2 separate regions of the Homo sapiens genome follow, and region 1 is linked to region 2. Evidence: promoter capture Hi-C in human tissues and cell types (Jung and others, 2019). All regions are on one chromosome and are shown on one strand. The core of a region is centred on a gene start or on the middle of the fragment in contact, and the rest is flanking DNA. Distances in the headings are between cores, read along the strand shown. Region 1 overlaps SOBP (sine oculis binding protein homolog). Region 2 holds the start of BEND3 (BEN domain containing 3).

Region 1 (5,311 bases), core at 479-2,978, 520 kb before region 2:
AAAAAACAGGAAGGGGCCTGGGCACGTTGGCTCACACCTGTAATCCCAGCACTTTGGGAGGCCGAGGTGGGTGGATCACCTGAGGTCAGGAGTTCGAGACCAGCCTGGCCAACATGGCAAAACCCTGTCTCTACTAAAAATACAAAGATTAGCTGGGCATCGTGGCGCGTGGCTATAACCCCAGCTACTCAGGAGGCTGAGGCAGGAGAATCACTTGAACCCAGGCAGCCGAGGTTGCAGTGAGCCAAGGTCGCGCCACTGCGCTCCAGCCTGGGTGACAGATTGAGACTCTGTCTCAAAAAATAATAAATAACTAAATAAATAAATAAAACAAACCAGGAAGGGCCAGAGAATGTGAGTAAATTGTGGCAGGTTGAGACTGTGCTGTGAGGTGACACGGAACTTCTGAGGGCAAGAGGAAATGTGATTTAGTGGAGGAGAGGTGGTTTTTCCCCCATCTTAAATCACTTGCCTTGTCACCCTTTCGTAGCTGACAAAGCCTGAGTATTTCTGTATTTCTGATTTTAAAGAAAAGCTGTAATTTCTTGGGGGACCCATCATTGAAAGAACTCTTCAATCTCAAGAGGTAGTGGGCAATTTCATCACCACATCTTCTGAAATTGGCTGGAGCCAGGTTGATATTTTTAATGATTCTGGTCCACATACAAGACTGATTCTTTATTCAGAAACATATATCATCCAAATAGCCATCGTGTATTTTATGTTTTTATGTTATTTTGGTCCCAAGCTACTCATATGTTAGTGTCACTATTCTTGACCTGGTCACTTCTCACTCCAATGATGGTATAATAGTAAAATCTCTCACCCTCCCATTCTTCTTCTTTTCAGCCTCACCTGAATGAGTGATATTAGAATGTGTTTAAAGTGACAATTCCCAATGCTTTCTGACTTTCTGAAGGCCGTCACTTTTTTTGTCACACATCTTCCCATTACTCACAGCTTTGTCAACCAGATTAAATTACTCTCGTGAAGAAATCAGGGGCATTTTCAATTGAGGTGACTGTGAGAAGGCTGAGGCCATCTGTCTTCAGGCAGCAGAACTTGTAGATGTAAAATCAAGAAGGAATGGTGAACTCATTTTTAGTATTCTTCCTCTACTGGCAAAGCCATCAGAGGAAAAGGAAACCTCGAACGATGGTGGCTGAGAAACCTTTCTTCCTCAACTGACAAGTCTCCTTGCTCTGGTCTGTGCTTCCCAAGCAATCTCCTGGCTATGCTAGGGGCCCAACTTAGAGACCAGGGACTGGACACACCACAGCAAGTGCTGTGCTCCACGTTTGTATTTCCCACTGTGGAGTAATGGGTTGGTAATTTAGGCTTGTTGGTGCTGCAGAAACAAGAATTCAACTGTCTGAACACTTAGAGAAGTTAGGAGGTAGACTCAGTTTTTGTTTGTTTTTTAAGAAACTTTCCCCTATGACAACTGAGGGTTGTTTTACCCACTGAGGTGGGTAAAACAATTTTAGTATGTAGGGTAATAAAGAAACTAATTAGCCTATTCTCCTACAGTGGTTTTTTAAAAAATGCAGCTCTGGAGTCAGACAGCCTGGATTTGCATCTCAACTCTGCTAATTTGGTAAAATCTTGGGCAAGTTACTTTAATGTCTCTGTCTTGGTTTCCTCATCAATAAAATGAAGACGATAATTGTCCTATGGACCCAGATCCAAATAAATACTACCGAAAAACACTTAGAAGACAGCCTGCATACAAATGTGAGCAATTATTCATCTTACGAGATCCACTCTCCTGGCCCCCGCTTCCTTCCTCCTGGAGTTTGCACTCCCACCAGATGGGGGCACGCCATCATTTACCTTTGTATCTCCCTAGTCCCTGGAAGGAGCAGTGTACAAGTTAGGTGCTCAATAAATGCTCATCTCTCCTCTTCCTCTCCATAAGAAGTTGATAAACTCAACTGAATTTTGGCCTGTTTGATGCCCGCTTGGATAGACGGGAGAGCTTGGGCTGTGTCCAACAGGCCTGAGTTGAATACGGCTTCCCCACGTACCAGCTCTGCTTCGGGCACAGTATCTAAGCTTCATCTGCCTCCTTGGTGAGATACAGATGATGCCTATTCCACCAGAATTGGCAGGAGGAGCAAATGAGGCCACCTCTGCCTATGACAGGCACACATGTTAGTTCCCCTTCCCAATATTGAAAAATTTAACTCACTCTTGGCGGCTCACTTGGCATTAGGCAGGAGTCTGTCTATGAGGTCAGAGATGTGCAGTGTCACTCACTTTAGCAATGCCACCCTCTTCCCTATCGAAGCCTCCCATTACCTGCAAAGGTGAGCAACTCATCAGCTAAGCCGCTGGGCCCCAAAAGGGGGAGAGAGCAAAGCTGGTCAGTGACGCTTGAGGCCTACCCTGGGGGATGCTGCTTGGTGCCAAACTGCAGGAAGGAGACCCCATGAACAGGAAAGACACCCTGCCAGGCAAATAGGACTCAGTGGCCTGGGTTCAGTTGACATATGCATGTAAGAGTTAGGTTTCATTCTCACTTTACAAATGGAATCCCGTCCTTATCAAGAAAATTTGGTGACATTCTGCCAATGAGGCAACCAGCTCTATTTAGTAGGTGGCCCAGCTCATGGGTTCACTGGACATTTCACCACTGCCCTGCAACCTCATGATCACACATTTAGGTGTCCCAAGTTAATCTCTTCTCCCTCCCCCCATCCTCCTCTTCTCCAATAGGGTGATTTACGGAGATGAGCATGATAATAAAGTGTAATTGGAGAGACAATATTTCATGACAGGTTGGAGACTGAGCTCTCCCCTCAAGTAAGTGACCCGGGGCTTGGCACTCACATGCTGTGGCTCAGTTTCCTCGGCTGTAAAATGGGAATGATGCTACTGAACAACTCAGCATCAGAGCTGCTGGCTCAGAATGTTGATAGCGTGACCACACCGTGTGCAATATAAAACACACACGGTAAAATCATGACTATAATTACAACTCTCCCCTCTGCCTTGTCAGAAGTAAGGAGAGGTGCACTGGCTGGTGTGGAGGAGCGCCCGGCGGACATACAAACCTTTTACTTATTCTGATTTCTAATTCGGAGGCACCTCCTTTTGAGCGGCGGCTCCAGGTCCTCAGGCCCGGCGCTGAGCATGGGCGAGGAGATGATGCACGGTGCCATGGCAGCCTTCTCCGCGGGTTTTGGCACAGGCTGGATCACGCAGCCGGTCTTGGGCAGCATCCGCAGAGCATAGGCATGGTCCTCGTCCGCGGGGTTATTAAGGTTCGGGTCTGACTTGTCGCCCCCCGCCAGGGCCTCCTCGCCCATCAGCTTTTTGGCCGCCTCCCCGTCCAGGTGGCAGTTGGAAGCACAGTTATTCTCCTTGACCGACTCTAGCTCGCTCACCGCCGGTTCCTCAGGCGACAGCAGCTTCTTGGGGGGCGCGGGCGGCGGCGGCGGCGGCGGCTGCTCGGGAGGCGGCTCCGCGCTCTTAGCGCCCTCGGCGGCGGCGCCGCGCGTGCCGTTCACGATGACGTTGCAGGCCGCGGCCGCCTCGGGGCCCGCCGGGGCGCCCGGGCCTGGGTCGCCGGCGGCGGGCGGGCTGCAGTGGCCGTCCCTGCAGCCGCCGCAGGTCCTGCGCTCCGCGGCGCTCGGCTCGCGCTCCGCCTTGACGTGCGCGTGCAGCGCGCGGTGGATCACGTTGTGCAGCCGGGCTCGGTGGCCCACGGTCAGGTCGATGACGCCGTCCTGCGGGCCCTGCAGCACGCCTGGGAAGCCGAGCTGGCCGCCCGCGCCCGGGGGGCCCGGGGGGCTGCCGGCGCGCCGCGTCAGGTCCACCACCTCGCTCCGGCCATGCTCGGCGGGCGTGGGCGCCAGGCTCAGGGCCTGGCCCGAGCAGCCGGGGGGCGAGTCCGCGGACTTGGACGAGCCCTGCTTGGAGTCCCGGGGGGACAGGGAGTGTCCGCTTGGCTTGCCGCCCGCCGCCGCGGAGTCGCCAGGGGCGTTCGGAATGAAGTTCTCCCCGTTGCTGGAGAACCCGTTGGGGGGCTTGGAGTCGCTGACGTGAGGGATAGGGATGGGGATGGGGATGGGCACCGGTAGGGGCACGATCACGGGGTACGGCACGAGCAGGGTCGGGGGCGGCACCAGCGGGGCAAGCGACGGCAGCCCGAAATTCATCATCTGGGGCACCGGCATCGGGCCATTTGGCATCATGCTCACTGGCGGGAAGGGAAGACTCGGCAGCGGGGCGCCCGGAGGCGGCGGGGGCAGCAGGCCTGGGGGGTTCCCGGGCATGGTGGGGGTGCTCGGGGGGTGGATGTGGGGCGATAGCATGGGCCGGTGCATGGGGCTGGAAGTGGGGCCCAGGTTTCTGGGGCCACCGGGCGGGGGCCCGATGCCGGGAAGCATGGGGTTGGACAGGGGGCTGTTGGGGTTGGAGGCATGGTGCGGAGGCCCGCGGATGAAGGGCGGGCGGATCTGCTGCATGATCTGCTGCTCCATGAAGATGGGCAGCGGCACCGGGCCGCGGTTGGTCATCACCATGGGAGGGCTCCGAGGCGGGACGCCAAGGGGAGGCCCGATGCTAGCAGGTGGCTGGACGGAGACAGGAGGGATATTTGGAGTCTCGCTGATGGGGATGGACTTGGGCACTGGCGTGGGGATTTTAGTGACAGAGCAGTTGGCAGTGTCAGATGGAGAGACGGTGGTGGACGCCGACGGGCCAGGGCCCTGGCTTTGGCCAGCTGTAGCCACCGGGGAGGGGGCCTTCCTCCGAGCATCTGTTAGCGGGATATTCCAAGAGTCTGGAGTGAGCAGCTGCACCCCGGTGCCTTCTGCTTTATTTTCCATGGGAGGGTGTAATGTGCTGCACAGCCCAGCTGGAAGATTGGCCTGGGTCTCTTTGTAGAAAATGTCCATTTTGTATTGATTGAGACATTTTGCACTGCAGAACTGAAGCCTTCTTTCCCCGTCCCCAAAATCCAGGTATTCTTTTGTGTGTCTTATGTGCTTACACCAGTCACATACCTACAACACAGTAATAAAAAACCACAACAGGTAAGACAAGCAATTTACCTGGGTAGATGACGTTTCGTGTTTCACATAAAGGTTCTTTTAAACTTTACCAGCACTTCTCAAACAGGCAGAACTGTTTCCTTCTAAAAGGTAAAATTCTGAAATGTTTGTAAAATGATGGGTTGGCTTTATAAATATGAGCTCTTCAGAATACCAATTATCACAACCTCCTATTCTTTTTTCTTAAATTGTGTTGTCCCCTTTAAGCATGACTTAAAGATGGTTCTGAGAAAAGGGAATATATATACCTG
Region 2 (5,550 bases), core at 2,112-4,611:
TTCTCCTACACATAAGGAAAATGTCCAGCACAAATTGTCTGTAACTTTTCATTTGAAACCTCATTTTTTTCATGTTGGGTCATGGTATATCACTTACCTGCTCCACATTCCAATAAAGATAGTTGTTGGCCGGGCGTGGTGGCTCACGTCTATAATTCTAGCACTTTGGGAGGCTGAGGCGGTCGGATCACAAGGTTAGGAGATCGAGACCATCCTGGCCAAGATGGTGAAACCCGGTCTGTACTAAAAATACAAAAATTAGCTGGGCGTGGTGGCACATGCCTGTAATTCCAGCTACTCAGGAGGCTGAGGCAGGAGAATCGCTTGAACCAGGGAGTCGGAGGTTGCAGTGAGCTGAGATCGCGCCACTGCACTCCAGCCTGGGCGACAGAGCGAGACTCCGTCTCAAAAAAAAAAAAAAAAAAAAGATAGTTGTTTATTTTTTCAGCACACAGGGGTTAACCATTGAGGCATGTCTTTCTGTAGGTCCTATTTAATATAGTACTACCTCTCACGCCCCTGTTTTTCACCCTCTTACTTTTCTGTTGTGAGTATTCACAGAATCTGGATCTGCCAGCTACTTCTGTTTGAAGTTGAAGACTTGGCGAAATTATACATCCAGCAGGCAAGAAATAAAGTGGAAATGTCTCACAAGTAACAGTGAAATCTGTTGCGTTGTTTTAAGTCTTTACTGAAAAAAAGTCCTACTAAATATTGTCTTGCCAACTATAAATATATTTTAGCAATGATAAAAGCCTTTAGAGTAACAGTTATCTGAAACCTAATGTCTGTCTGTCTGCCACTCTTAATTATATATATTTACATTTTATATCCCAATCTTCTTTTATATCCCATTTTATATAACGCAATTTTCCATTTGAGTTTTTACATTTAGTGTCTCAGTGTTTTATATGGTCAAGTAGCCAGTTTTCCCCCTGCTACATTTTACTCAGGTACAAATGAAAATGAGTTGACTAGATCGATGGCAGCAGCTCTAATTTGAAATCTTGAAAAATGCATTTTTTATTAAGCAATTTCAAATTGAGCAGACCTCTAAAAACCAGGTTGTTATTTTTCCGGGTCTTTACACACACATCCGTATGAACCATGAACTGTTACTGCACTTTCAAAACTATTATGTCTTGAAGTTTCCAAAATTATATACAACTATTCCAATACATTTTTCACCTTTATGCGTTATTTTCCTTCTCCATATAAAAAAGAAAACCACATAGAAAACCATTTGAAGGAAGGTGATTTCCTTTCTTGGATAGCAATGACTTCTATTTCTATTAATAACTTATTTGAAACAAGCCACTTACTTTGTTAAGTAGATAGATCCATTTATGCAAATATAAGATACATACTTTTACAATAATATTCAAGGTCCGTTTGAGTTTCCTGAAAGTTGTTTTGAAAAGTCAGCTATATCAGTTCAATTATTGTATTTGACAGAAATCTTTTGTTTCAAGCAATATGAACAGAGAAATGTTAATTTCTATCTCTATTGTCTTATTATTTAATTTCTCCTTAAAAACCTGAGTTGTCACTGTGAAAGATTGGTTAAATATATATCCCCTCACTACACACGTTTCATCTAGTCCTCTTTCCAAAAATTTAACAAGGTCGTTTTACATTCTTAAAGCACCACAGCAAAGTGATTTAAATGCAAAATGTGCTTAAGTGCTACTTAACTATTCCTAACTCTTCTACTGGGAAATCCTAGAAAACTGAACTAATGAAATGCAACTTCTACTTTAAAAATTCTAATTATAACTGTCACATTAAATTGAAGGTGAGAATAAAACTGGTGTATCTGTTAACTAAGTCAAGCGATGTACTGTGTCGTACGTGTTATTTAATGTGCAAGTGTAAAAGTCAAGTTCTCTGCAGAAATCGAAGTGCCTCCCCTCAGTCTTCTGCGAATGTATAAATTAACCATTCTCCCCCAAGCAGTCCTCCTCCCTTCCTCCCTCCGCCCTATTTTAAATGTAGATAGGGCGACCTAAGTCTTTTGAATTTGAAGGGCTGCTATCTCGGCCCCATTCTTTTCATCATCCTGTTTTCAATGACACTGAGCACGTATAGATTCTTCTATAAAAGCACCCCCTGGATGCAGGGCTTGGTTCTTCAGGCTGCTTGCTTAATTTTGCATAGCAATTAGTACTGACTTCACTAAACCAGTAATCCAAATACAGCTCGAGAATGTTCCACGTAGTTCCTCAAACTTAACCCTGTGCCTTTTGATTTCAAGCCCGAAGGGGGGGAACTTGCATAATTACTAAATTCCCAATTGGAGTGGTCTGAAGGAGGGTACGGTAAACCCAAACTATACGTTAATTCAAACCCTCGCCGCGACTGGGCAGCAAGGAGCCAACATATGCCTTCTTTTAAAAATCTATTCTACCTATTCACTGACCGCGCAGGGCCGTGCCACATGGTCCTCCCTTGCAGCCAGTCAGCTGTGAGCAGCAGATGGGATCATTTGCATTTTTCTTTTTATACTTTCTTTGATCGGCAAATTAAAGGATTTTTCTTAAATTTACATTCTCATTGTTTGCCTAAAATACAAACGTGGCTAAACTGTTGAATTGGGCTTCCCTGACTCTCACCCAGCACCTCCCCCTCCCCCTACCCAGCCACTGAGACTTGAGAAAATACCCGAGGGGTAGATTTCGTATTTATCAACTGGGAATCTACAGTCCAAGAGTTAGGAGTAGACAGAATCAGCCTTTATTGAGTTGGTGACTCGTGTTTTTCTATTTTAGGCGCTCGGCGCAGACAGCCCGTGGGTTTGTGTTTGTGGGGTGTGTGTCTGTGAGCGCGGGCGCTTCCGAAGCTCTCGCTCCGCAGCCTCACACCCCAGAACTTCGGGTTGCAAGAGCAGATTTTAGCTCTGAGGCTCACAACAGAGGGCGGCCACCGTGCAGGGGGAGTGGCCAGAGCCAGCTTTTCCCAGCGCCAGGGTCGCTCTCCCGGGTCCCGCCGGACTCCATGCCGCCCCGCGGGGCCGCAGGAGCCACCCGGGCCCTCGCGCCCCAAGGTCTTTGTGCCGGTGGCGGCGCGGGAAGACCGGCCCCGGGGGCCTGGGCTGCGGCCCAAAGGCCAAAAATGCGGGAGAGGCGTGGGCGCGAGGCGGGACAAGCTCCGCACAGTCGCCGTCCCGCAAGGGGCAAAAAAGTAGAAAAAGCCGTTTGGGGCCAAACTCTCGGGTCTGAGAAACCACGTTTCCGAGGACGAACTCGCGGTGGGAGGACACATGGGGTACAGGGGACATTGTTCGCGGCGCCTGCCCGGCGCGCCGTGGGTGCGCGGCCGCCGCCCCCGCCCCGGGCAGCCAGCGCGGGCCCACGTGGAGCCACTGCGCTGGCCGAGCGCGCCGGGCCGCCTGGGTCCCGGGAGTGCGCGCCCGAGCTCCCCGCCGCGGCCGTTCACGCCCGAGCGCCGCCGCCGCCGGTCCCGCGTGTGCCCCGCTGAGGGGGAGGGGCGGGCCGGGGGTGGGGGCGGAGGGGTTGTGGTTCCACTGCAGCGGGGGCTCCTGTGTCCTTGTGCGGAAATGACACACGGAGTCCCGTCACGTCACGCGAGAGCGCAGCGCACGGACACACACAAAGAGAGGGGAAAATACACGGCGCTCGCCCGCCCGCCGCCCCCAGCGCCTCCCCGGGCCGCCCTGGCCAGGCCCTCCGCGCGCGGCCCCCACTCCCCGGCCCCGCGCCCTCCCCCCCACGTGGCGCCCAAACTCGGCGCGGGCCCGCCCGGCAAAGTACAGAACTCGCGTCCCAGGTAAGTGCGGGGCGGATCAAGCCGGCCGCGCGGCGGCGGCAGCGTTGGCGGCTCCGGGGCGAGCGGCCGGTAGAGTGGCTGCAACATCCATGCCGGGGTGGGGGCGGGAGCAGGGGAGGGGACGCGGAGGGGGGCTGCTCCGAGCGCGCCCGCCGGTAGTAGCGCCCACCCCCGCGCGGGCCGAGCGACCGGAGCGGGCGCCGGGCGCCCACGGGCTCGCCGCGCCCATTGTGCTGCGCGCCCCTTTGTGCCCGCTCGGAACGCGGCGGCTCCATGGCGTTCTGGGGAGCACGCGCGCCGCGCGGGGGCGGGGGGTTCGCGCGGTGGAACCGTCCGCGCCGCCGCCGCCGCCCGCCCCACTCGCGCCGCGCGCCGGCCCCGCACCCCCGCCGGGCGCCGCGATGGAGCGGCCGGGGCGGCCGGAAGGCTCTGCCGTACTCGCGGCGGCTTGGCGCTCGCGCTCGGCGGGGCTTTGGCGGGGCACTGCTCGGCGTGTGGAAGGGGGTGTCGGAGCGGGAGCAGGGGGCGGGGACTGGAGGGAGATGCCGGGCGGCGAGCGGGAGGCCGGGGGAGCAGCCGCTCGGAGGAACGAAGCCTCCGGAGGCTGCAAATGGAGCGAGGCCGGCCCGCGGCGGCGGCGGCCGGGAGCGGAGAGGGATGGGCCCCGCCGCCAGGGGGCGCAGCGCTCCCTTCCCGGCCGTTCCACGGCGGTTCGCGGTTCCCGCTGCCCAGGAGCTGGAGGCGGGCCCGGCGCCTTGGGTGTGCACCCGGGCTGGCGCGAGGCCTGGCCGGCCGGCCGCAAAGCTGAAGCCTGGGGCGCTCGCCGCTCCTCGTGAGCGCTCCTTTCCTTCTCTATGATAAACGTGATTTCCCACGCATGCTTTGCCCTTGCCTCATCCGTGAGCTGTGCACCACCGATTTGGAGGCCCTTGTGTGCTTGTTTACCTACGTCTCCCTATGTAGCTATTTTAAACAAGGTGTTTTTACAGAGATAAAAGTTTTATTGATTGCTCAGGTGGTCTTTCTGGAAGAATTCTGCACGTAAACGCTAACTCGACAAGAGTGCCGGGAGGAACAAGGTTACTCACTAGAGTTGGAAATGTGCAGTTCATCTCCTTAAAGTAACTTTTGAATGGTTGAATACAAATAGTAAACATGCCACAGGGCAGCGTGGCATAGTGCCAGAAAGCTACGGTTGCAGGAAACTGAGGTAAGGAACTGAGTCCTTCAGGTAGCCAGGTATATAAACGGCTGGGATGGAGGACTTTCTCTTGTTACCCGCTCCCCACTTCCACCCTTGCAGTCCGTTTTTCTCTCTTTTTTTTTTAAACCATTCATCCCTAGATATTGGCTTTATACTACCATACAAGAGCCTGTCAAGCTTTCCTCGGTACTGGGACTTGGGCAAGATTTTTTATCTCCCTCACAGTTTCACATCCCCAGCCTCTAACCCGGTGTCTCATAACTTAGTAGGCGTTCAGTGCGTATTTCCTAAATGAATGGAGAGAGCCTCTTGGATTCTAGAGGAAAGATGGAGCCAGAGCGCCAGTTGCTGCTGCTGGGTTAGCTGGTGTCTGTGTGGCCCTTGAAATCTGTCACATCAACCTCCTGTCATGGAACATGAGTTTTTTTTTTGTTTTTTTTTTTTTTTTGAGACGGAGTCTCGCTCTGTCACCCGGGCTGGAGTGCAGTGGCTTGATCTCTGCTCACTGCAACGTCTGCCTCCCGGGTTCAAGCGATTTTCCTGCCTCAGCCTCACGGAGT

What was found. The method cuts DNA at HindIII sites, captures the fragments that hold promoters and counts their contacts. A contact is called where the count stands out against the background at its distance.
Region 1: a contact is called between a fragment that was not itself captured here and the fragment with the promoter of BEND3 in region 2, in 1 of the 25 tissues and cell types used here (H1 embryonic stem cells).

The regions. Positions count from the first base shown.
Region 1 is chr6:107,633,215-107,638,525 of GRCh38, reverse strand. It overlaps SOBP (sine oculis binding protein homolog), which reads right to left. Exons shown (of 7, transcript NM_018013.4): 6 at 3,057-5,012. The coding sequence ends at 3,060. Among named protein-coding and RNA genes, the nearest start is that of SOBP, 150 kb to the right of the region's middle. The HindIII fragment of the contact is 5,510 bases long and covers 1-4,483 here.
Region 2 is chr6:107,113,326-107,118,875 of GRCh38, reverse strand. It overlaps BEND3 (BEN domain containing 3), which reads left to right and starts at 3,361. Exons shown (of 4, transcript NM_001367314.1): 1 at 3,361-3,786. RefSeq lists enhancers at 1,346-2,111, 2,112-2,875 and silencers at 3,468-3,517, 3,558-3,607, 3,738-4,647. The HindIII fragment of the contact is 9,723 bases long and covers 1-5,550 here.